Linked DNA regions of Homo sapiens: all the other regions are linked to region 6. Evidence: promoter capture Hi-C in 16 types of primary human blood cells and fetal thymus (Javierre and others, 2016). All regions are on one chromosome and are shown on one strand. Each heading gives the region's core, a stretch centred on a gene start or on the middle of the fragment in contact. The rest is flanking DNA. Distances are from core to core; before and after follow the strand shown. Region 1 holds the start of TPCN2 (two pore segment channel 2). Region 2 holds the start of MRGPRD (MAS related GPR family member D). Region 3 overlaps TPCN2 (two pore segment channel 2). Region 4 holds the start of MRPL21 (mitochondrial ribosomal protein L21). Region 5 has its middle 32 kb from the start of MRGPRD. Region 6 holds the start of CCND1 (cyclin D1).

Region 1 (4,398 bases), core at 1,554-4,053, 590 kb after region 6:
CCCGCCCTGAGCTCATCACCCTGGGGGACAATCACCTTTCCACACACCATCACCCACTGGGGCTGAAGGGTTCTGCAAGGCACAGAGGACAGCAGGGGCTGAGATGCTGCATCCGGCACACCAGGCCTCGACACGGCTTCCTAATCCAAGCCTCTGCCCCGCAACATCCAGGTCTGAGCTCCCGCTCCCCTGTTGCTCCAGGCTCCAGGCTGCACAACCTGTGTAGGGTCCTGACCATCATCCTCTGTGACCCTGGGCAAGTCCCTTAACCTCTAGGTGCTCCAGGTCCTCATGGACCCCCACCCAATAGGAGCTAAGTACAGACTGAATGACTTACTATAGCCAGAGTACTTTGCTAAGTGAGCCCTTCATAAGCATTCAGTTACTCTGAAAGCCTCTACAGCATCGCAATCCCTTGTCCTCTGACTTGTTTGATAACCAGTAAAAGTGTGATTTTTCTGACCCAGCAACAAGAGAAAACAACTGTTCTCAACCTTTGACCCCGGCCCCATCAGGTGGGGCCAAGTCAAAACGACCCAACAGCAGGGTCCACTGGGGTCCTTGGGGCACCCACAGCAGCAGCCCTCACCACAACCCGTTGGCAAGAGACCAACCACAGGACTTGCAAACCAGAGCACAGGGCCTTCATTTCAAAGCCTGGCACAGGCCTCAGCACAGAGACTGAATGAGCCTTTCGGAGTCTCCATGGCTCCATAGTCTGCCAGTCCTTGCTGGGGACCCTGGCCAAGGGGATTCAGAACACAGAGCGTCCTGTCCACGTTCTCAGAAGCCCTGGCTGAGGCCACAGCATAGGGACAAAGAGCGCTCCCCGAGAGCCTCCTCTTGTCAGCCACACTGCCCAGCAGAGCGGGTCTCACCTGCCAGGGAGGACCTGCAATGATCACAGAGCTTACCCAGGACGGCCACTGGCCCCCACACCAGCCCGCCGGGCCCTGTGCTGAGGACAAACTCTGGATTCTCTCTGAATCCTCACAATGCCCGCCAGGCAGTCCTTAGTATTATCTCCCTTTTACTGAGATTCGGAAAGGTGAAGCATGGCCAGGCACAGTGGCTCACGCCTGTAATCCCACCACTTTGGGAGGCCGAGGCAGGCAGATCACCCGAGGTCAGGAGTTTGAGACCACCCTGGCCAACACAGTGAAACCCCATCTCTACTAAAAATACAAAAATTAGCCAAGTGTGGTGGCGGGCGCCTGCAGTCCCAGCTACTTGGGAGGCTGAGGCGGGAGAATCGCTTCAACCCAGCAGAGGTAGAGGCTGCAGTGAGCCGAGATCACGCCACTGCACTCCAGCCTGGGTGACAGAGTGATACTCCATCTCAAAAAAGAAACAGAAAGGTTAAGCAACCTGCCAAGGTCACACAGCCAGTGCAGCCCCAGAAAGGCGCCCAGACCCCTAGACACAAAGTCTGTGTTCCCTGAACGGTGCCATATGCTGGGCGTCTCATCAAGGGGCCTGCCAGAGCTGCTCCCTGCAGATCTCCTTCCTGACTGGTCCCAGGAAGCACCTGAAGAACTTCCTGGAGGCAGCTTCTGAGGTGAGCAGACAGGGTGGCCACCTTGGCCTCTGGTTTTTCATCTCTCGTCAGGGTCCCCTCCTTGGCCCCTCATTACTCCATGGATGGGCACATGCCACAGACCAGTGGGTGGGCACCAGGATTCCAACCCAGTTCCTTCCAGACAGAGGAGGAAAGAAGGAAAGAGAGGCCAGAGAGGGAAGGAGCCAGGTGTGAATTCTCAGAGTGGTTCGAGCAGCAGCCGCACCAGAACAGAGGGCTGTGACCTTGGGCAGGTCTCAGGGCCTCTCTGGGCCTCAGTTTCCTCATCTGTGAAGTGAAGCTAAGGTCCTTCCACCTCTTAATCCAGAATCTCATTCCCCTGGTGTCAGCGAGGGGCGGACGCACCCCACCCTCGGGGGGCGGATTCAGCAATCTTCAGACCAGGACAAAAAACGGGAAGGGCAGGAGGGAGTGCAGAGGGGACTCTGGGGTGGCAGAGGGCAAGGAGAGGAAGCCGCCCCCGTCTAGGGGGCCCGCCCCAGCCCCACGGGAAGTGGGACGGGGAAAGGCACCCTACAAAGAAAGGACTCCTAGCTCCCAACTGGTTCGAATCCCACCTCGGCCACTTACTGGGTGTGTGACCTTGGGTAGGGTAACGCCTCTCTGTGAGCCTCTGCTTTTTCCAGAAGAAACGGGAAAAATCAAAGTGCTGCCTTCTCTGAGTCAATTAGGCGACCCTCATTACGGCGACAGTCGGGAAGTATGGGGTCTGGGCCCGCCCGGGCACACGGAGGGTGCCTGCCGCAGGTGGCCGGTTCCCTCGGGGCTGCCCAAGGCTGGGCGAGGGCCTCTTCGCCCAGCTGGTCGGGATCAGGACGCGACACGGAAGAGACCCCAGCTCTGCCCTGACCCCGGTCCGGGTCCGCAGGACGCAGCCCACTCGCCCTCAGAACACCGGCTCGCCTGGCACCCGGCGCGGCCCGGGCCCCGCTCGGACTCGAACCTGGTGGGGGCGCGCCCGGCAGAAAGCGGGGTGCTGGGACAGCGGGACCCCCACGCGCGACCCTGGTCTCCCGGGCCAGTCCCCTCCCCAGGTCCGGGCGGCTCACCAGGGCCGACTTGGATGCTGCGGTAAGTGGTCAGCCCCGCCGGCCAGTCGCCGCCACCGCCGCGGGCCCCGCCCAGCAGGGGCTCCGACTCCGCCTGGGGTTCCGCCATCCAGCAGCCCACGCGCTGGACCCGACCCTCAGAAGCTCAAGCCCCGAAGGCGCCCAGCTTCACTGCGCAGGCGCGGAGACCCCGTCCCTGGCGTTTTTGCTGACGCGCGCACGGCACTGTGGCGCAGGGGATCCCTGCAGTCCCAGCCAATGAGAACGGGGAGGGAGGGGTGGGGTTCTCCTGAGTGGGGCGGAGCTAAAGGGCCCCGCCCCTCTAGGGTGGAGCTCAGCTTCGTTCCACCCAGGGCGGGGCAGCGTTCTGGGGCTTAAGGGCCGAGGGCTGGGGAGGAAATATGTTCTCAAAGGATGTCTTTCCGGCCAGAAGCTTCAGCATCACCTGGAAACATTTTAGAAATGCAAATTCTTGGGCCCTTAAACCTACTAAATCAGCAACTCTGCGGGGAGGACCCAGGAATCTGTGTTTTAACAAGCATTCGGGGTGATTCTGATGCATGTGAGTATTGAGTACACGGGGTGACTGCAAAGGACTCCCCCCAGAATGGAACTGGAGTTTACCCTCTGATGGTGAAATTAGGAGGATTCAATATCATTAAGGGAAAAGTTTAAAAACATATGACACACTTAAAAAATATTTACAACGTATATAAAAAGTGTTTTCAACATTAATGCATAAAGACCTTGTATTCGTTTTCTATTGCTACAGTGACTAATTACCACAATCTGAAAATATAAAATAACTCCCATTCATCATCTTTCAGTCCTGCGGGGCAGGAAACCTCCTGTCTCAGGGCCTCACGAGGCTAGAGTCAAAATGTCAGCTGCCGTGGGCTCTTATCTGCAGACTCTGGGGAAAGCCCACTTCCAGGCTCATCCAGGATGTTAACAGAATTGTCTCCATGGGCCTAGGACTGAAGTCCACGTCTTCTTGCTGGATGTTGGCTGGTGTCATTCTCACTCCTAGAGGCCACTGCATTCCTTCCACGATGGCTTGAACACCTCCATCATCAGAGCCAGCAAGCAAGAGCACGCTGAAGACGCTTCGAGATGCAGCAAGACGCCTGTAATCCCAGCCCTTTGGGAGACCGAGGCAGGTGGATCACGAGGTCAGGAGATCGAGACCATCCTGGCCAACATGGTGAAGCCCCGTCTCTACTGAAATACAAAAAGTTAGCCAGACGTGGTGGCACGTGTCTATAGTCCCAGCTACTCGGAGGCTGAGGCAGGGGAATCGCTTGAACCCGGGAGGCGGAAATTGCAGTGAGCTGAGATTGCGCCACTGCACTCCAGCCTGGCAACAGAGCGAGACTCCATCTCAAAAAAAAAGGTGCTGCAAGACGCTTCCAATCTCTGTGACTTCCCCTTCTGCCATACCTCTTTACTTTTTCCCCCTCTTTTGGGGAGGGGGGAGGGTTTAAAATAAATATAAAATTTACCATCATAACTGTGAAAGGAAAATAAATCTCAGGACTCCAAAATCACTAAGCCAAAGGGAAAAGTCAAGCTGGGAACTGCGTTGGGCAAACTGCCTCGCCTTTTCTTCTTTAATAAAATAGCTACGAAGATTTAAAAAGCTACATACCTCCCTCACAATTTGCCCGCTAGGAAATTTTTCGTGGGCACCCAAGATCTTTACCCTAAAACAGTTTTGTTGAATTTTACCCTAACAATGTACATTGACAACTGATCTTCACAGGTTCCAAA
Region 2 (3,864 bases), core at 40-2,539, 660 kb after region 6:
CACTCAGAAAAAGAATTACCAGGCAATATTTAGTGAGACTAAATGTGCATATGTTCTATGACCGAGCAATCCTCCTCCAAGAATGTATCCCAGAAAAATATTGAGTCAAGTCCAATGGGTACATGCATGAGGATGTCCAACACAGTGTTTTGGTGATAATGGGAATTTTGAAGCAAGCTGAGGATCCACAGTAAGGAATGGATAACAGATCAATGTGCATGATGACATTTTAAACCACAACTTTTGCATACAGCCACCTGGATATATCCTACAAACATATTGTCAAGTGAAAAATAAAAAACCCATCATTAATTCTAAATCACAACATTTACGTAAATTTAAAACACAATGGGCAACCACTCCATCTTGAAAGATATTGAGGTGTCCAAGGATTTGCGTGAAACAGGTTGGATGGATGCAAGCGGCAGGAGGAAAAAGGCAGCTAAGATGGGATGGGGAAGGAAACTTGAATAAATGGAGGGTTTTTAATGGGCTGATGCTCATGGTGTGTCTTAAACTAAGGAGTGTAGTTAATTCTACACTTTGCCCTGAGGTCTAATTTTTTTTTTTTTTTAAGAGACAGCATCTCGCTCTGTCTTCCAGGCTGGGGTGCAGTGGCGGGACCATGGCTCACTACAACCTCAATGTGCCAGGCTCAAGCGATCCTCCCGCCTTGGCCTCTCAAGTAGGTGGGACCACAGGTGTGTGCCACCATGCCTGGCTAATTAAAAAAAAAAATTGTAGAGATGAGATCTTGCTATGTGGCCCAGGCTGGTCTCAAACTCCTGGCCTCAAGCAAACCCCAAAGTGCTGGGGTTACAGGCATGCACCACCACGCCCAGCCCTAAGGTCTATTGTTTTTTTAATTAACTCACAGGGTTTGACAATTACAGGAGAAAAAAAAAATGATTTCAAATGTTTCTATCAAATAGTTTTTCTACATCTATTGATAATAATGATTTTTCTATAATAGATGTAGAAAAAGCATTTGATAAAATTCAATACCTCTCCATGATTTAAAAAATAATTCAAAGCAAGATAGAAGAGAATTTTTTAACCTGATAAAGGGTATTTATAACAGCTTTGTAGCTATAAAGGTGACCCTGGAGGCAGATCTGGGCTGAGTGAGTCACAGGAGTGGGGGAAGGTTAAGCCTCCCGGTCATGGTCTGTTACATAAAGAACCTGGAGGGGAGAGCTCTGAAGCTGGAAATTCGAGGGGCACCCAGGGGTCCCCCGTGGTCCCAGCAACACAGAATTTCACATTGGTACATCTTCCTCTCGTAGGGATGAACCAGACTTTGAATAGCAGTGGGACCGTGGAGTCAGCCCTAAACTATTCCAGAGGGAGCACAGTGCACACGGCCTACCTGGTGCTGAGCTCCCTGGCCATGTTCACCTGCCTGTGCGGGATGGCAGGCAACAGCATGGTGATCTGGCTGCTGGGCTTTCGAATGCACAGGAACCCCTTCTGCATCTATATCCTCAACCTGGCGGCAGCCGACCTCCTCTTCCTCTTCAGCATGGCTTCCACGCTCAGCCTGGAAACCCAGCCCCTGGTCAATACCACTGACAAGGTCCACGAGCTGATGAAGAGACTGATGTACTTTGCCTACACAGTGGGCCTGAGCCTGCTGACGGCCATCAGCACCCAGCGCTGTCTCTCTGTCCTCTTCCCTATCTGGTTCAAGTGTCACCGGCCCAGGCACCTGTCAGCCTGGGTGTGTGGCCTGCTGTGGACACTCTGTCTCCTGATGAACGGGTTGACCTCTTCCTTCTGCAGCAAGTTCTTGAAATTCAATGAAGATCGGTGCTTCAGGGTGGACATGGTCCAGGCCGCCCTCATCATGGGGGTCTTAACCCCAGTGATGACTCTGTCCAGCCTGACCCTCTTTGTCTGGGTGCGGAGGAGCTCCCAGCAGTGGCGGCGGCAGCCCACACGGCTGTTCGTGGTGGTCCTGGCCTCTGTCCTGGTGTTCCTCATCTGTTCCCTGCCTCTGAGCATCTACTGGTTTGTGCTCTACTGGTTGAGCCTGCCGCCCGAGATGCAGGTCCTGTGCTTCAGCTTGTCACGCCTCTCCTCGTCCGTAAGCAGCAGCGCCAACCCCGTCATCTACTTCCTGGTGGGCAGCCGGAGGAGCCACAGGCTGCCCACCAGGTCCCTGGGGACTGTGCTCCAACAGGCGCTTCGCGAGGAGCCCGAGCTGGAAGGTGGGGAGACGCCCACCGTGGGCACCAATGAGATGGGGGCTTGAGAGCCGCCCACAGGTGCTTCCCACCTGTGCGAGCCCATGCCCTGGAGATTCCCGAGCCGTGAGCTGCCTCCCACCTCGTCCCTGCCAAGTGTCTGGCCCGCCTTCTTGGGGGAGCCCCAAGGACTTTGCAGCTGCATGTGGGGGTCACTTCCCTGCATGTCAAAACTCCCCACAACACCTGTGTCCTGGATCTCACAATGCAACCCCGCTGGAAGATGCAATTTATTTGTTTATAGCAGATTATCTGGTTGGGGGAAAATATTAGCTTTTAGCCCTACCCTGCTTTAAGCTGGTTATCTATGGGTGGATAACAGGAATCTCATTTGAATATGAAAGCTTTCTCCCAACCACCTTCTCTGCCTAAGACGGCATCTTTGTGGAGGAGGCAGGTGACCTCGGGTGATCTTTGGCCCTATGCTGGTCCTTGGGTGGCATCAACTGGCCACCAAGGTGGTGCCCCCGTGCACCTTTCCCCAGGTGTGCCTGAAGTCTGGCAAGTAAACGGTGTCGCCATCGCCGACCCGGATCTCGCTGGCTGTGGGCCATGAGACTCTGCCCCACCATCCCTCTGACCCCTGGCCAGCCCTTGACCCCTGGCATTTGCTATGAGGTCGCCTTACCCTGTCACCCCTCGCACCCAGGGCAGGCCTGTTCGCTTTCCTCCAGGCCGCACTGGGAAGGGAAGAGCCTCTGCCTGGCTTCACTGGCAGTCACTCCAGCAGATGCTGATAGGACAGTGCCCCAGGCAGTGGAGGGCAGCCTTCCAGGCAGTGTCCCCCAGAGCCAGAGTCTCATACCTCACTGACTGTCCCTCCCAGGGCCCCCTCACTTTGCCCAAAAGCCCAAAGACGGAACATCTGGGACACACATCAGCTGGCTCCACTCTCCTCCCTCCCCCTTTCCTTCCCACAGTCCCCTGGGTCCAGAACAAGGCAGATGTTTCCTGCACTTTCCACAAATCACAGCCCTTTCCTACCACCCAGCATCCAGCCTCGAGGCTCGGGGCTTGCATGGAGGGGGTGCAAGACAGGAGGTCCCTGCAGAGTCAGTCCTGGACTTAAAGAGGTGAGGGAGGAGGAAAGACGGAAGTGGAAAGATCCTGTCTCCAGACCACAGCCTGGCCTGCAAGCCTGGCACCTGGCTGCGTCATCCTGTTTTTCATGTCAGAAGGTGAAAATGATCTTGTTCTTTCTCTTGGCATCTTTCTGAAGCAGTTTTCAGTCTCCTCCCAAAAGATGGAGCCTTCGAGCCAGCCAGGGCACAGGTCAGATCCTGAGACAGGAGAGGACAGCTCATCAGTAAGCTATAAAATACACCCCTGGAATCAACTCTCACAGCCTGCGGTTCTGTGCCGTGGCAGGTGATGGTGTCCTGGGGACTCGAAGACTGTGCCCTGGACAGGACTCCCCTTCCTGGGCTCCCCCTGTTTGTTCATTGCCCTGGGCTGGGGGCTGTGCAGCCCTCCCAGAAGGAGAAATTACCTCTGAGTGCTTTCCCACCTAGGGCTCAGGCCCCCAGGTCTGTGTGTCCCAGAGAAGCATGCGAGGCAGAGTGGTGGCTCTTTCTCAGTCGTTCCAGCATTTAGCGGAGCACTTGGTACCAGCACTGGC
Region 3 (4,245 bases), core at 1,052-3,551, 550 kb after region 6:
GCACCCAGGCCTACCCAGAACCCCCACAGGTGTGGGTCCCACCACCCTGTGAGGCTCCGATTGAATTACTCAGAAGAATAGCTGGCCCCCCACACACACCCTGAAACGTGAGTAGAGGGCTGGGGAGAGGCGTGCAGGAGGCTGTGCCCGCTGCCCTGGGCCGTCTGCTGGCCACTTTGATGTGAGGAGTGTTGTCTGGGCTCCACGCCTCCTCTTTGATTTTTAGGAGCAGTGCAGTGTGCCCAGTCCCATTTGGTGGTTTTTAAGCAAGAACTCTTCTAACCTTTTCCTAAGAACCACTAATTATCTCAGGCGGGAAACCCAATCCAAGCCGTTCTGGCAGTAGGGAAGATTCCCCCTGCTGTGCCCAGCTGGACAGAGACCACATGAAAGGCCCCAGCCTGCTCGCTAAGACCCCGCTCCCAGGCCCCAGCGACAGACTGGGCATGGGTCTTGGACCCCATCCAGCCACCTGCACTGGGGACAGCATGTGGGAGGGAACCTGGGAGAGGAACCTGATGGCCACTGAGTGCTCCCACTAGTGATACCAGGCCTGCGGGGCCGGCAGAACTGCTGCTCTGGTCAGCCCTGTGCTTGAGCCCTGGGGGCAGAGGACCTGCCAGCCCGGCCCTGCCCAGCCCTGCCAAGCCCCGCCCCACTTCTGCCCCACTGCTGCCCCTGGCACTGCACCTCCTGCCACTGCCCAGCAACGTCCCTGTGGCTGACCCCTGCCTGGCCTCCTCATTCCTGCTTTGTCACTTCTCTGGCTCTTCCCTGGGTCTTCCACATCAGTCCACACAGGATCCTCCCACGTGAAAACCACCACAATATCCTCTTGACCCCGCCTCCCCTTTGCAGCGAGATTCCCTGAGGGCCGTCCATCCTCACTGTCTTCAGTGCCTCTCCTCTCGCTCTCCTTTTAATATTTGGCACATGCAAAAGAACACATGTAACATGTGCATGTTCCTAAGGTTAATACCATGACCATGAGCCCTGCCCAGCCCCGCCAGGACAAGAACTTCCCCTGGAACTTGCTCATGGCAGTCAGTCCCTTCCCATCCCATCCCCATTTCCCCAAGAGGTGGCCGCTCCCTGGACCATAGGCTTCTGGCCATCTTGTGTTGAAGTAATCTCAGCACTAACCAGACCATAAGCTTCTGGCCGTCTTGTGTTGAAGTAATCTCAGCACTGACCGGACCATAGGCTTCTGGGCGTCTTGTGTTGAAGTAATCTCAGCACTGACCAGACCATAGGCTTCTGGGAGTCTTGTGTTGAAGTAATCTCAGCACTGACTGGACCACAGGCTTCAGGCTGTCTTGTGTTGAAGTAACCTCATCACTGATGTATGCGTGCCTACATGGTATGTTGTTTAACCTTGCTTTTGAATTTTACATGAATAATACCGTGCCGTGTGGAGACTTCTGGAACTTGTTCACCCAACATTATGTTTCTAAGATTCTTCCAGGTAGCTCTTTGCAGCTGGAGTTCATTCATGTTCACGGCCGTGTAATACTCCACTGTCACCAAGCTGCAGCGTACCTGTCATTCTGTTGAGGACGTTTCAGCTGGCAGATGTGTTGCTAGTACTGATACTGCTCTTAGGATCACTCTGCCGACCGTCTTCCAGTGCACACGGGCAGCAGTTTCTCTTGTGAGTGTATCTAGCAGAGAATTACCAAGGTATGTCCTATTCAATTGCAAGAAATGACACCAAACAATTTTCCAAAGAGGTTGTTTCAGCTTAGCTTGACTCTTCAGAATAAACATGTAAGTACTAACAATTAAGATGGTCCAACCTCTTCCATTTTGACCATGGAGTGAGTGAAATGTTGTGTTTCAGTTTCATTTTGCATATTCCTAATAACTAGTAAGACGGAGCAACTTTTGACATAGCTATGGAACCCGGGTGTTTGCTTTTCTGTGAAAAGCCCAACTTTCTACTGCTTTGTCTTTTTCTTCCTAATTTGTAGGTACTCTTTATGTGGTCTGGATATAAGTTCTTAGTTGTTCTCAGTTACCAAAATCTTCTCCCAGTGTGTGGCTTGCCTATTTTATGGCCTTTTTTAAAGAAAGAAGTTCTTAATTTAAATATATTGAGTTCATCTTCTAAACGTTCTAAAACTTGCTTTTCACACTTAAGCCCGCCTCCAGTCGGTATGTACTTTTGTGTTAGGTGTGAAACAGGGAACTTATTTCTTTCTTTTCCCACCTGGGCTGGAATTTCTGGCAGCATTTATTAAATAACAATCCCTTCCCTGCGGGTTTGCTGCCATCCGTCGCAGTTCCGCATTTGTGCAGGGCTCCCGGGCTCTCTCCCCTTAGCCGATCCGCCCCTTGCGCCGGTGTGCGGGGCTCCCGGGCTCTCTCCCCTTAGTAGATTCGCCCTTGCGCCGGTGTGCGGGGCTCCCGGGCTCTCTCCCCTTAGCCGATTAGCTCCTGCACCAGGACCACACTGCTGTGGCTGCTGTCCCAGCAATGTAAGTCAGGAATAATGGAGCAGCAATTCCCTCAACTGGATTCTCCCACAGAAAGGATTTTTGCTCTTGTTTTTGTACTTTCATGTTAATTTTTCAATCAACTTATCAAATTTTGTGGGAAAAAAATGGCATTATGTTTAGAATTATAATGAATGTATGGATGAAATTGGAGAAGGCTGACATTTTTACAATATCAATTCTTTTTGACCATGAAGATAGAAAAACTGTGGTGGCCAGAATTCCAAGATGACCCCAGTGATCCTTACCCTTACATAATCTCCTCCCGTGAATAAGTCACTCCCGGAATTGGGATATGTTAGGTGGCACACAGGACTTTTAAGGATGGGCAGTTGTCCTGGTGGGTCTGACCTAATCAGGTGAAACTGTAAACCACACAGGCTTTTCCTAGAGATTCAAAGGGTGAGTGGGAGTCAATGTGAGGCAGCTTCTTTGTTGCTGACTTTGAAGATGGAGGGGACCCTATGGCAAGGAATGTGGGTGGCCTCTAGTCCCTAAGAGCAGCCCCTGGCTGACAGCCAGCAGGAAACGGACATCAGCCCAACACCTGCAAGCAACTGCATTTGGCCAACAACCCAAGTGAGTATGGGAGCAGACTCTTCCCCGGAGCTCCCAGAAGGAACCCAGCCCACTGACACCCCAATTTCTGCTGAACGGAGGACCTACCAAGCCGTGCCTGGATGTCTGACCTGCAGCTTGGAGCTAAGAAATGAGGTTGTGATAAGCTACCAAGTATGTGGGGACTTGTTACACAGCAACAGAAAACTACATAGTCTCAATTTACTTGTATCTACAGTCATGGGCTTTAATGAAGTTTTATAGTTTTCTGTATATAGGCCTTGAATATCTTTCCTTCCATTTATTTTTAGAAACTTTAAGAATTTTTAATCTTATTTAAATATCTTTTAAAAAATGAATATAACTGAATCCTTGAATATAATTTATAAGCTTATTGCTAGTGTCTAGAAAAGCAATTGATTTCAGTATATAATCTCAGGGCAGGCCAGGTGCAGTGACTCACACCTGTAATCTCAGCACTTTGGGAGGCCAAGGTGGGAGGATCACTTGAGCCTAGGAATTCAAGAATAGCCTGGGCAACATAGAGATACTCCATCTCTACAAGAAATAAAACAATTAGCCAGACCTGGTGGCATGTGCCTGTAGTTACAGCTACTCAGGAGGCCAAGGTAGGAGGACTGCTTGAGCCCACAAGTTGGAGGCTGCAGTGAGCCATGATCACACCACTGCACTCCAGCCTGGGTAACAGAGCAAGACCCTAAAATAAATAAATGAATAAGTAATAAAGTAAAAACTTTTTAAATCTCATAGCAAACAACTGTGCTGAATTCTTTTTTTTTTTTTTTTTTTTTTTTGAGACGGAGTCTCGCTCTGTCGCCCAGGCTGGACTGCGGACTGCAGTGGCGCAATCTCGGCTCACTGCAAGCTCCGCTTCCCGGGTTCACGCCATTCTCCTGCCTCAGCCTCCCCAGTAGCTGGGACTACAGGCGCCCGCCACTGCGCCCGGCTAATTTTTTGTATTTTTAGTAGAGACGGGGTTTCACCTTGTTAGCCAGGATGGTCTCGATCTCCTGACCTCATGATCCACCCGCCTCGGCCTCCCAAAGTGCTGGGTGAATTCTTACTATTCTTAATAATTTTGGCTTTTCTATGTAGACATCATATTTGAGAATAAAGCATTACGTTTCTTCTATTGCTGTTTTTATGTACTTACATATTTATTGCATCTTAA
Region 4 (3,955 bases), core at 587-3,086, 740 kb after region 6:
GTCCAATCAAAAGCAGGAGACCCAAGAAATCCTCCTAAAATGCAAAGCTATTCGCCTCCCTCACCTGCTTAACCCCGCTGATGGCCCATCCTTCATACACAGAACAGAAGACTAGCTCCTTAGCCAGGCCCTTCCCAGGCTCGCCCTGCCAGTCTGCTCAGCATCCTCAGAAAGAGCCACTGCCATGGGGGCTGACTCTGTCCTTGGCACCACGCTGAGCACCTGACTGACAGGGGATCGTTTCATTCTCAGAGCAAGCCTGTGAGGTGGGAATCATCCCAGTTTTACAGATGAAGTAAGTAAGGCTCAGAGACAGAACCTGCAAAGTCACACAGCCATAAATGAAACAGCTGGGATTCTAAGAAACTCAACATAACTGCAAAAGCTCTCCATTGCCATGATCAAAAGCATCTCAGACAAATCCTACCCACATATGGCTGACTGCAAACTCTGGAAGCAGACTGCCTGACAGCAAATCGGGCTACACTGTGTCACCCCGGGGCAAGTTACTTAACCCCTCTCTGTCTCCATCTCCTTAGACGGAAAATGACAGTAACAGAAACCTACACTGCGGCCGGGCACGGTGGCTCACGCCTGTAATCCCAACACTTTGGGAGGCCAAGGCGGGCAGACCACGAGGTCAGGAGATCGAGACCATCCTGGCCAACATGGTGAAACCCTGTCTCTACTAAAAATACAAAAAATTAGCAGGACGTGGTGGCGCGCCTGTAGTCCCAGCCACTCAGGAGGCTGAGGCAGGAGAATCGCTTGAACCCGGGAGATGGAAGCTGCAGTAAGCCGAGATCGTGCCACTGCACTCCAGCCTGGGCGACAGAGAGAGACTCTGTCTAAAAAAAAAAAAAAGAAAAAGAAAAAAAAGAAACTTACACTGTAGGGTTGGCATGGGATGAGGTGTAAAAGAATTAACGCATGGAAAGTACGTAAGTGTTAGCTCTGATTGTTTTGGACAAGTAAATAGTCCCATTCGGAAACAAGCCCGGCTCTCACATGGCTCCCCACACCTCTCAGGACGGCTCCCCACCCTACTCCGCACCCACCAGCTTAACTCCAATTTTCCTTCAGGCACCACTCCCTCCTTGAAGCCACCATGACCCTCCCCAGGGAAGGGCCTTCCTCCTCCAGGCTCTTTCCCCGCGACACGCACGCAGCCGGCCCTGGACGCACTGGAGGGGAAGGGACTCTCTGCTTATGCCCAGCCCGCCGCTGGCCGGATCGGGGGCAGCCAGTGCACCTGACTCATGCTGCCGGGGCCTGACTGAGAATGGGCGCAAACCATGTTTACTGAATGAATAAGGGAAAGGGCTGCTAACTCGCTGCGGGTGGAACTGGGGTCGGGGCCAGGGCCCAGGAGTGTAAGCTTAGTGGGGGGTCTCGGGTCGGGAAATCAAAGTGCTTCTTAAGGGTCCCCAAACGGAACGCGCTGCCCAGGAAGTGATGAGACTGACAACTCGGGAGGTGGCCAAGCAGGGGACGGACGATCCCTGCCCCTGACTCGAAGGGTCGGAGACGAAATTCCCGCCCCAGACTATGAGGCCGAGCCCCTCGGAGACTCTGCCCGGGACACGGCGGGACCGACCGCGAGGGAGCGGCGCCGGCGGCCTCCCGTACCTGCGCTCCTCCACCTCCGCGTCTCTCTCAAGCTCCAGCAGGTCCAGTTGCTTGGTCACGAAGCTCTCCACAGCTGCCGAGGCCATCGCCGCCGCCGGCCTGGGCCCCTAGAAGCCGACGTCCCGCTTCTGCGCCGGGCCGGTGTTACAGCGGACCGGTGTTCCCCGCCGGGCCCGTGCGTTACGCACGCGGTTCGCGTCGTTTCCGTTTCCGGCCGAGGCTGCGGCCATGGCAGCATCTTCCCTGACGGTCACCTTAGGGCGGCTGGCGTCCGCGTGCAGCCACAGCATCCTGAGACCTTCGGGGCCCGGAGCAGGTGAGACCTGGGATATGGGAGGAAGGGAGGACGCAGAGCGAGCGCTGCTCCCTGCGGTCTCGCCACGTATGTGCCTGGGTCCGACCTGGTGCCTTGTGTGTTGATCGCATTTGTGGTGAATATAGCACGGGTTTTGGAGTCGGGGGAACCCAGGTTCAGATTTTGATTCCTTCAGTTAGTAGCCTGAATACTGACAATAGCCCTTGAACTTTGGTATAGGCCCTATGTTATGGGGGAGAAGAGTGAGGCTCAGAGGAGCTAGGTAACGTGCCCAGGGTCACACAGCGGGGAAGTGGAAGAAGAGTACTTCAGGCGCAGTCATTTCGGCTCCAAAGCCTGTGCTTGAACCACTGCCCCCAGGCTGCGAGCTGGTCTGAAAAATGGTGATGGATATCCTCGCCTAATCTGAACTCATTCTGCAAAAGAAACAGCCGTATTTAAGGCGCTGGGCTGATACGAGGCTCCAAAAAGGTTATGTCCGTTAAAAACTCTATAAATCTCTGCTTGAAAATGGTTGGAGTGTGTATTTGTGTGCATGAGTGTTTATGTATGTTTTAAACCTGGGTTTCATGTCTCACCATGACCCCCAAAAATGGAAAACTGGATCTAACTCTATATTGGACGATATTAAAAGAATAGTACCATAATTCCCAAAACTTGGAAGCAACCCAGATGTCCTTCAGGAGATGAATGGTTACATAAACTGTAGGACATCCATACAGTAGAATATTATGCAGCAATAAAAAGAAATGAGTCATGAAGAGACATGGAGGAAACTTACATACATGTTACTAAGTAAAAGAAGCCAACCTGAAAAGGGGACATCTTGTATGTTTCCCACTATGACATTCTGGAAAAGGCAAATCTAAGGAGACAGTAAAAAGTTACATGGGGGGTAAGAGGATTGGGGGAGAAAAGGATAAATAGGTGGAGCTCAGAGGATTTTTAGGGCAGTGAAACTATTCTGTATGATATAATGGTAGATACATGTCATTATAAGTTTGTCCAAATCCATAGAATGTACACTACCAAGGGTGAACCCCTAATGTAGACTATGGACTTTGGATAACAATGATGTGTCAATGTAGGTTCATCAATTGTAAAGATTGTACCACTCTGGTGAGGGATGTTGATAGGAAGCTGTGGGCACATGGACAGGGGACATATGGGAACTCTCTGTACCTTCCACTCAATTTTGGTGTGAAACTAAAACTGTGCTAAAAAATAAAGTCTATTAAGAAATTAATAATAATCACAGAGTTGGGCCAGAGGCAATGTAGATGCCAAAATTGGCCATGAGTTGGTAACTGTTGAACCTGGAAAGGGATAATTGAGAGAGTTCACTATTCTGTTCTCTTTACTTTTGTATGCTTGACATTTTCCATAATAAAACTTAGGTTTAAGTAGGCAGGAAAGTTTTTACAAAAGCAGTGGGACTTACTCCATTCTACCTACCTACATGAAACCACCCCTCCAATGCTATGTTCAAGTACAGACTCACGCATTAGGAGAGAAAGACACACAGTGAAGCGAGTAGAGACAAGGTGACCAAAACAGTGAGCAGCTGGGGCCTTGAAGAGTGAGCAAAGGAGACGTGATGGAAGTACACAGTCACAGTCTCTAGGACTACCTAAAGGAAATCCTGTGGGAGAGGAAGGAGACTGTTTGTTCCCTGGGGACCCAAAAACAAAGCTAGAAGCAAATTAGGTACAGAAGCCTGCTAAGTTTTTAATAGTGGGATGGATTTGCCAATGGGTTGACTGAGTAGTGTGCGAGAGAAGAGTCAAAACTGATGGAGGTTTGGGGCCTGAGCAACTGGGAGGATGAAGTTGCCCTCATGTGAGAGGGAGGAGTGTGGGAGAAGCAGGCATGGGAAGAAATGAGGAGCCTCTGGAGGTGTGAGGTGCTCGTCAGACACGAGTGGCTAAGGCAGATAGATAGGTGGGTATGCAAAACCAGGAGAGAAGCCCTGGCTGGAGGTGTAAACTTGGGAGTCACCAGCACATTGGG
Region 5 (3,865 bases), core at 1,282-3,781, 690 kb after region 6:
TGACTTTGAAAGGGCCAGGCTGAGAGCTGCATCCACCGCTGCTACAATGAGGACAAAGAGCTCCTACCCCAGGGGGGCTGCAGCCTTCCCTGCTTCTGCTCATGGCGAGGGGCCCCAGGTCTCAGTAGAACTGTCTGGTAGATGCCAATCAGCCTGACATCACTAGAAAACCCGGAATTCTGCATATACATGCATTTCCAGGAGTGTGGGACTTCTGGGTAGCATATGTGCATTAAACAAGAAAGAAATACAATTCTTATTATTAAGAACATTTGGACAGTGCTTTGTGAGCCATTAAAGTCACTCGTCCCCCAAGCCGGAAGCGTGGGGATCTTCCCAGCCCCTCACCCCTGCAGGAGGCCAGTCTGCAAGTTCTGATGACTGAGCCCATGCATAGTCAGCAGATGCGCCCCTGTGTACCCCACCTGACTCTGACTTCTCCAGACTATAGCTGCTGGCAGGTTTTCCACCTCAGACACCTCCTCAAGGCAGCCACCAGAGGGACTTTTCTAAGACACAAACTGGGCCAATTTCCCTCTCCTCACTGCCCAACTCTGGCTCACCCCAGCCCACAGCCACCGAGACCACACAGGCCTGGGATGGAGAAAGAATGTGGAGGACCCCAGACCCACTGGAAATCTGGCCTTTCCTTGGCACTTGCTGAAAAATGGGAGCAGCTGCGACCCCATCAGCTGCCTAACTGGAAAACCAGCAGGAATTGTCCTGTTCTGATTATAGAACCAACATTCATCATTGGAGAAACTTTTTTTTTTTTTAGCTATAAACGAGAGACCAAGAATCACACCAAATCCCAAAGATCAGAGGTGTTTACAATGGCCATATGCCTTTGTATCTTTTCTTTTTCTTTTTTTAATTTTAGAGCCAAGGTCTCACTATGTTTACCCAGGCTGGCCTGGGACTCCTGGGCTCAAGCGATCCTCCTGCCTTGGCTTCCTGAGTAGCTCGGACTACAGGTGTGCGCCACCACACCCAGCTCCATCTTTTCTATGCATATATGTGTGTTTGGCGTACGTTGAGCATGCTGATTTTGTAGTTTTATATCCAACTTTTGTCATTAAGCACTAACATTAAATGATTATGTAATATAATGTGATTATAAAATGATTCTACTGGTTGTTTACAAAGTATCTGCAAAGGGCCAGGTGTGGTGACTCACGCCTGTAACCCCAACACTTTGGGAGGCTGAGGTGAGAGAATCACTTAGCCCAGCAGACCAGTCTGGGCAACAAAGACCCTATCTCTACTAAAAATTTTTTTAAAAAATTATCTGGGCATGGTGGCATGTGTCTGTAGTCCCAGCTACTCAGGAAGCTGAGGTGGGAGGATCTCTGGAGCCCAGGAGGTCGAGGCTACAATGAACCGTGATTGTGCCACTGCACTCCAGCCTGGCCAACAGAGCAAGACCCTGTCTCAAAAAACAAAGTCTCTGCAAAAGATAACTTAAATATTATAGAGCAACAGTCTCCAGCCTTTTTGGCACCAGAGACCGGTTTCGTGGAAGATAATTTCTCCATGGGCCAGGCCGTGGGGCGGCAGGGGGAATGATTTCAGGATGACCCAAGCGCATGACATTTATTGCACACTTTATTTCTATTATTGACATTGTAATATATAATAAAATAATTCTACAATTCACCATAATGTAGAATCAGTGGGAGCCCTGAGCTTCTTTCCCTGCAACTAGACAGTCCCATCTTAGGGTGATGGGAGACAGTGACAGATCATCAGGCATCAGAGTCTCATAAAGGAGCACGCAGCCTGGATCCCTCGCATGCGCAGTTCACAATAGGGTTCGCGCTCCTATGAGAATCTAACGCCGCCGCTGATCTGACGGGAGGCGGAGCTCGGGCGGTGACGCGAGCAGTGAGGAGTGGCTGTAAATACAGATGAAGCTTCACGGGTGCACCCACCACTCACCTCCTGCTGTGAGGCCCAGTTCCTAACAGGTCATGGACCCGTACCCCTGGGACCCCCTGATCTAGAGAAACATCCATGTAAAGTTAGCGGATTGAACACACACATCTACATAAGGCCACTAAATAAATTGATGCCACAGAATCACCTAAAGGCTCAGGAACTGGGGGCCTTGGGAGCCCAAGAAGTGGGGTGGGAAGGAGCTAAAATAAGGCGGGTGGATGGAAGTCTTTAAAAGAAGCAATCAGTCATGGAGACAGAAAATGAACAGAGATTCCAGGGGCTGGGGGGTTGGTATTTGATGGGGATGGAGTTTCCATGTGGGAAGATGAGAAAGTTCTGGAGACAGATGGTGGTGATGGTTGCACAATGCTGGGAATGTAAGGGATGCCGCTGAGTTGTACACTTGCTTACACAATGGTTAAAATGTTAAATTTCATGTTATAGATATTTTACAATTTTTATGAAAGCAGCAGCAATCAGATCTTCTAATCCCATCTGCTACTCAGAGAAGCCTCCTCCTCTACTCTGAGAAAAGACCAAATACCCGACTAGGCTCTGCAGTGGGTAAAACAGAATGAGTCTGCCTGAGGGTCCCAAGGCATAGCTGGGCGGGGGAACCCCGTACTGAGTGGAGGGTGAGTAAGCAGGTGTATGAACAGAGACTGTGATTGCAACCTGGCACATCCAGGGGGAAAGACTTCTGGTCCCTGGCTCAACGGCCGGGCAGCTGATGCCTCAGTGAAGCCCACAGTCAGCGAGCCCTCCGCACGGTCTTGGAGAGTCAGTCCCTGGCTGATAGGAGGGGACAACTACCAGAATCTGCAGAAAGCCACGATGCGAAAGGCAGACGGAAGCCATTTGTAATCGAAACACTGCAGGAAAAAGAAAGCAGCAAACAATACAAAACCACACCCACAGACAGAAAAGAGAAGACGCAGCCCCACAGGGAGAGCACTGCAAAAAGGGACATGAGGGAAGGGCTCTTCGATGCTGAAAGGAAAATGGTGTGAATTTTTAAAACCTAAACAAAAATAAAATGGTTGGAAAATAAGGCTGAGGAACATCTCATTGTTTAAAAAAGGAAGAGATGGAGAGATAGAAAACAGGAAAAAAGATGTAAGAAGGCCAGAGGCAGTGGCGCACGCCTGTAATCCCAGCCCTTTGGAAGGCTGAGGCAGGTGGATCACTTGAACCCTGGAGGCTGAAGCTTCAGTGAGCTATAATCGCACCAGTGCACTCCAGCCTGGGTCACACACTGAGACCCTGACTCAAAAGCAGCGACGGCCTGGTGCGGTGGCTCACGCCTGTAATCCTAGCAGTTTGGGAGGCCGAGGCGGGTGGATCACTTGAGGTCAGGAGTTCGAAATTAGCCTGGCCACATGGCAAAAACCTGTCTCTACTAAAAGTATAAAAACATTAGCTGGGTGTGGTGGCGGGCACCTGTCATTCCAGGTGTAATTCCAGCTACTCGGGAGGCTGAGGCAGGAGAATCGCTTGAACCCAGGAGGCGGAGGTTGCAGTGAGCTGAGATTGCGACACTGCACTCCAGCCTGGGCAACAAGAGCAAAACTCCATCTCAAAAAACAGCAACAACAACAAACCCAGAAACTGATTCTCTCTCTTCAAGATAAAATCTCGAGGGGCGGCCCTGTCCTGCCACTTCCAGCTTCTGGGGGCTCCACGTTCCTTGGCCTGTGGCTGCACCACGCCAGCCTCTGCCTGTGTTTGCAGGCAGCCTCCTTCTCTTCTCACATGTCTCTTAGACGGACACCTGTCATTGGATTTAGGGACCATCCAGGTAACCCGGGATGATCTCCTCTCAAGAACCTTTACTTAATTACATCTGCGAAGACTCTTTTCCCAGATAAGGTCACATTCGCAGGTTTGGGGATTAGCATATGGATTTACCTGTGGGGAGGGAAGCGCT
Region 6 (4,330 bases), core at 1,474-3,973:
GCGGCCAGGTTCCACTTGAGCTTGTTCACCAGGAGCAGCTCCATTTGCTGCGAACACAGGGTGAGCGGCCATCAGGGGAGGTGCGGGCCAGCCCGGGGGCGCGGGGAAGCCGGCAGCACGGGGGCCGGGCCACGCCGCACCTCCGGCTCAGAGCACTGGCCCCTGCGTCTCGTGCGGTCCTGGATGTTGGAGGGGAGGGCTGGCGAATGCTGGGGACTCAAGGGAGCTGGGGCAACACGCAATCCCAGATCAAAACAGAAAAGGCGCCCGCCGCGTGAAAAGACTCTGCAAGTGGAAACAAAAAGACCTCCCACCACCTGGAACTGGAGGCTCAGCGCCGAGCGCGGCGCTCCTCGTGCAGCCGCTGGAGGGCGCGCGCCGCCCACTTTTCGGCCACACCGCGGGGCGCGAACGCGGTGGGAGTCGCAGGCAAGCGCACACAGGGCGGCGGGACGAGGGCGGCTAGGATCCCGCCCGCTCCCCGGACAGGGACGCCCGGCGGCGGGGCCGCCCTCCCTCGGAGGAGCAGATATGTCAGAGGCGGGCCGGCCGCCACCGCCTGCACCTTCCCCGGCCCCGTGGTCCTGCGTGCGGCTCGCGGGGGGCGGGGGGCGGCGGGGTCCAGTGGTTACCAGCAGCTCCTCGGGCCGGATGGAGTTGTCGGTGTAGATGCACAGCTTCTCGGCCGTCAGGGGGATGGTCTCCTTCATCTTAGAGGCCACGAACATGCAAGTGGCCCCCAGCAGCTGCAGGCGGCTCTTTTTCACGGGCTCCAGCGACAGGAAGCGGTCCAGGTAGTTCATGGCCAGCGGGAAGACCTCCTCCTCGCACTTCTGTTCCTCGCAGACCTACGGAGGCACGGGGCCCGTGACCGCCGCCGCCAGGTCGCGCCGCCCCCCCGCACGCCCCCGCACCCCCCATCGCGCTTGGCAGGGCCGCCAGGTCTGGAGGGCGCCGAGGGGTCGGGGCTGGGGGCGGCAGGAGCTTCCCGTGATGCGCCCCCTCCCCCGCGCGTCCCCAGTACCCACCCTCCCCGAAACTGAAAGGGAAAGTCCCCGCGAGGCTGGCACGGTGGGGGCGGGAGCGGGCACAGCTGGGCGGCGTGCGCGGCGGCGCGGGCTGCCGGCCCCCGGGACCCTGGCCCGCCCTGGAGCTCCGTGGTCCCTCTGACTGGGGGTCGACACCAACTGGGGTGCGGGGCCGCGGAACGGGCCGCGGGGTTGGGCGCCGCGCCTGCGAGACACAAAGGTGGCGTCCCAGGCCGCCGCGCCGCATTTCCCCAGACGTCATCTTTTCAAAAAATATTTAAAAATATTAAAAAAATAACTAAGTGCATAAAAAAACCCTGAAAATGACCCTCGGGCGACCCTTTACCCAGGCCGGGGGTTGGGAGTTCGTTACAGGCTCCGGGGGGAGCCCCAGGAATTCAAACTCCGGGGCCCCCCCTTCCCCCTGGGCGCGGGCGGCGTTTCCCTCTCGCAAGGGCACCACGCCGCACTTTCAAAAATTATTTTAAAATACTTGCGGGCCCCTCAGGCGCCCACCGAAGGTCTGAAAATGTGCTCCCAGGCCCCCGGCTCGCTCGGAGAAGGTCCTCCAAGCCGATATCCCTGCAGACGGGGATCAAGCCCTGGCGTCTTGGGGGCCACGCGACCTTGCAGCTCGCCGTGCTCTCCGGCCCAGGCTGCCCGTTCGGGGCGCCCCGGGACTCGCTGCTTGAACAAAGGCCCCCCCTTCCCTAGCGGCGTCCCCCCAAAACTACCCATGCCGCGTCCCTGCGCCCCTCCCGCGGGCTCCCGGCAGCCGCGCGGCCCTTAGCTGCGGCCCCAGCGCCCGGCGGCCGCTCCCCGCCCCCACCCTGCCCCCAATTATTAATAAACACTTTTGCTTTGCAATAAAAGAGCAAAGATGGCGCATAATACTGGCACGAGCGGCCCTTGCATACGTGTCCATGGATATTAATTTAAAAATCAAATCTATGCCCCCTCCCCCCGGAGTTGGCGGCTCCCGGCCGCTGAGGCGCAGCCGGGCTGGGGCGCAGGCGGGGGACACAAAGCGCACCCAGCCTGCCAGCCCGCACCCTCGGGCCCATTGGGGTGCCCCTGGCACTGGCTTCTCCCGAAGGCACCCCTCCCGGACCCCCTTCTCCCCTCCCACGAAACGCTACTTCTAGCACCCCCACCCCCACCCCTTCCTCCTTCAGAAAATACCCGCAATTTTTATTTTGAAAATACGGATCCCTAGAAACACCACGGCAAACTTCAAAGTTCTAGCGGGAGAGAAGGGAGGGGGGTGAGTAGCAAAGAAACGTGGGTCTGGGCAACAAGTTGCAGGGAAGTCTTAAGAGAGCCGCCCGAAGCCCCGCACCTCCAGCATCCAGGTGGCGACGATCTTCCGCATGGACGGCAGGACCTCCTTCTGCACACATTTGAAGTAGGACACCGAGGGCGCGCAGGTCTCCTCCGCCTTCAGCATGGCCCGCAGCACCCGGTCGTTGAGGAGGTTGGCATCGGGGTACGCGCGGCGGATGGTTTCCACTTCGCAGCACAGGAGCTGGTGTTCCATGGCTGGGGCTCTTCCTGGGCAGCTGGGGAGGGCTGTGGGTCCTGGCTGGGTCCGCGCTCGGCTCTCGCTTCTGCTGCCCCGCGCTCCCTCGCGCTCTTCTGCCCCTCGCCGGAGCGTGCGGACTCTGCTGCTCGCTGCTACTGCGCCGACAGCCCTCTGGAGGCTCCAGGACTTTGCAACTTCAACAAAACTCCCCTGTAGTCCGTGTGACGTTACTGTTGTTAAGCAAAGATCAAAGCCCGGCAGAGAATGGGAGCGGGAGGGGGGCGGGGGCGGGCGCAGGGGGAGGGGGCGCGGGCGCCAAACGCCGGGAGCAGCGAGGGGCAGAGCCCAAAAGCCATCCCTGAGGCGCCGCGCCTGCCCTGCGGCGGAGTTGCCCCTGTAGTCCGGTTTTCATAGAAATGCAAATCGCCCCGCTGCAGCCTTTCTCCCCGCCAGGGAAGAGGGGTGCAGGGGGCCCCGTCCGCCTCGAGTGGGTCCCCCGGGATTTAGGGGGTGAGGTGGAGGTGGCTCTGCAGTAGGGGACAACTAGGAAGGCCGGCAGGCCACACGCAGCCTGGGGAGACCACGAGAAGGGGTGACTGGGGCGCGGCGACACCCCATATCCAAGCCGGCAGAATGGGCGCATTTCCAAGAACGCCACGAGGGCACCCACGGGCGGACAGACGGCCAAAGAATCTCAGCGACTGCATCTTCTTTCATTTTCATTAACACGTGTAAATTGCAAGAACTAATTTAGCATGCAAGGACGGGGAGGACCGGGCACACAACCCCTGTGCAAGTTTCATTCCGGCGCACAGGGGCGTCGTTGCAAATGCCCAAGGGGGTAACCCTAAAAGTTAAAGGGATTTCAGCTTAGCATGCGCTCGCTCAAAAAATAAAATAAAATAAATGCCCGAAAATTCCAGCAGCAGCCCAAGATGGTGGCCAGCATTTCCTTCATCTTGTCCTTCTAGCCTGGAGACTCTTCGGGCTGCCTTCCTACCTTGACCAGTCGGTCCTTGCGGGGGTCCCCAACTGCACCCCCTCCCTTCCCGTGCCGGCAATTTAACCGGGAGAAACACACCTCTGAATGGAAAGCTGAGAAACAGTGATCTCCATTCTGACTCATTTTTTTTAATTAAAAAAGAAATTAAATTGCTGGAAATATTAGTCCCCTCTGCCTGGGACAAGACCACCGAAGGTTCCTAATTGGTTTTGTTGGGGGTGTAGACGTCCCTTCACCTTTAGAATTTGCCCTGGGACTGAATTCGTGAGCGTGAGGGGGCTGGCAGGAGCCGGCATAATTCAGAACAATTATCAATTAAACAAACGAGTGTACTGATCTGATTTTTAGCAAAATCGATAGGTGTTCGTGGTTACATGAGAGGGTCCCCAATATTATCGCAAACTTAAGCAGATGTAAATTAAAATACACAGTTTTTAAAATTACAGGTTCTGTCTCTTTGGTGCATTAAAAAATAAAAGGACATTTTACTGTCTTAACTTTTGTTTTTATTTTTACAGTACCTGCCCCAAATTAAGAAAACTGTTCATTTACTTCCTTTTGAATATAGTTCAGTGTCATCAAACCACCGTACCCTCTTAACAGTAAAAGCTCAAAGAAAACTGATAGAAAAAGCCCTCTCCCCTTCGCCAGGGTGCTCACAGCAAGATGCGACCCCCCCCACCCCCACCTTTCAGGGTGAATTCCTCCCGCGCCCCCTCCCCCGCCGGGAATTAGGATTACTAATATTCCGGGTCCTGGGGGGGTAATTACCCCCGG

Evidence for each region. Contacts are between HindIII fragments. The CHiCAGO score rates a contact against its expected background, and 5 or more counts as called.
Region 1: the fragment with the promoter of TPCN2 here is called in contact with the fragment with the promoter of CCND1 in region 6 in 7 of 17 cell types (activated CD4 T cells, non-activated CD4 T cells, total CD8 T cells and 4 more); the score reaches 8.9 in activated CD4 T cells.
Region 2: a contact is called between the fragment with the promoter of MRGPRD here and the fragment with the promoter of CCND1 in region 6, in 1 of 17 cell types (monocytes). The highest score is 5.1, in monocytes.
Region 3: a contact is called between a fragment that was not itself captured here and the fragment with the promoter of CCND1 in region 6, in 16 of 17 cell types (naive CD4 T cells, activated CD4 T cells, erythroblasts and 13 more). The highest score is 16.0, in naive CD4 T cells.
Region 4: a contact is called between the fragment with the promoter of MRPL21 here and the fragment with the promoter of CCND1 in region 6, in 3 of 17 cell types (megakaryocytes, M1 macrophages and total B cells). The highest score is 7.1, in megakaryocytes.
Region 5: a fragment that was not itself captured here is called in contact with the fragment with the promoter of CCND1 in region 6 in 1 of 17 cell types (M1 macrophages); the score reaches 5.4 in M1 macrophages.

Annotation. Positions count from the first base shown.
Region 1 is chr11:69,047,337-69,051,734 of GRCh38, reverse strand. TPCN2 (two pore segment channel 2) reads right to left here and starts at 2,803. Exons shown (of 25, transcript NM_139075.4): 1 at 2,629-2,803. The coding sequence starts at 2,737. RefSeq lists an enhancer at 1-399 and silencers at 2,376-2,475, 2,556-2,725, 2,846-3,065. The HindIII fragment of the contact is 3,554 bases long and covers 1-3,063 here.
Region 2 is chr11:68,978,411-68,982,274 of GRCh38, reverse strand. It overlaps MRGPRD (MAS related GPR family member D), which reads left to right and starts at 1,289. Exons shown (of 1, transcript NM_198923.2): 1 at 1,289-2,254. The coding sequence starts at 1,289. The coding sequence ends at 2,254. RefSeq lists an enhancer at 1,800-2,309. The HindIII fragment of the contact is 14,944 bases long and covers 1-2,592 here.
Region 3 is chr11:69,090,563-69,094,807 of GRCh38, reverse strand. TPCN2 (two pore segment channel 2) reads right to left here. Exons shown (of 25, transcript NM_139075.4): 25 at 4,211-4,245. Among named protein-coding and RNA genes, the nearest start is that of MIR3164, 9.5 kb to the right of the region's middle. The HindIII fragment of the contact is 2,289 bases long and covers 1,157-3,445 here.
Region 4 is chr11:68,901,713-68,905,667 of GRCh38, reverse strand. MRPL21 (mitochondrial ribosomal protein L21) reads left to right here and starts at 1,836. Exons shown (of 7, transcript NM_181514.2): 1 at 1,836-1,945. The coding sequence starts at 1,858. IGHMBP2 (immunoglobulin mu DNA binding protein 2) reads right to left here and starts at 1,777. Exons shown (of 15, transcript NM_002180.3): 1 at 1,630-1,777. The coding sequence starts at 1,715. RefSeq lists enhancers at 1,295-1,354, 1,685-1,804, 1,236-1,963. The HindIII fragment of the contact is 5,018 bases long and covers 1,381-3,955 here.
Region 5 is chr11:68,947,112-68,950,976 of GRCh38, reverse strand. No RefSeq gene overlaps it. Among named protein-coding and RNA genes, the nearest start is that of MRGPRD, 32 kb to the left of the region's middle. RefSeq lists an enhancer at 3,478-3,865. The HindIII fragment of the contact is 1,232 bases long and covers 1,916-3,147 here.
Region 6 is chr11:69,639,549-69,643,878 of GRCh38, reverse strand. CCND1 (cyclin D1) reads right to left here and starts at 2,723. Exons shown (of 5, transcript NM_053056.3): 1 at 2,368-2,723; 2 at 633-848; 3 at 1-47. The coding sequence starts at 2,565. RefSeq lists enhancers at 1-231, 1,750-2,452, 3,960-4,330 and silencers at 448-707, 838-897, 988-1,127. The HindIII fragment of the contact is 14,749 bases long and covers 1-4,330 here.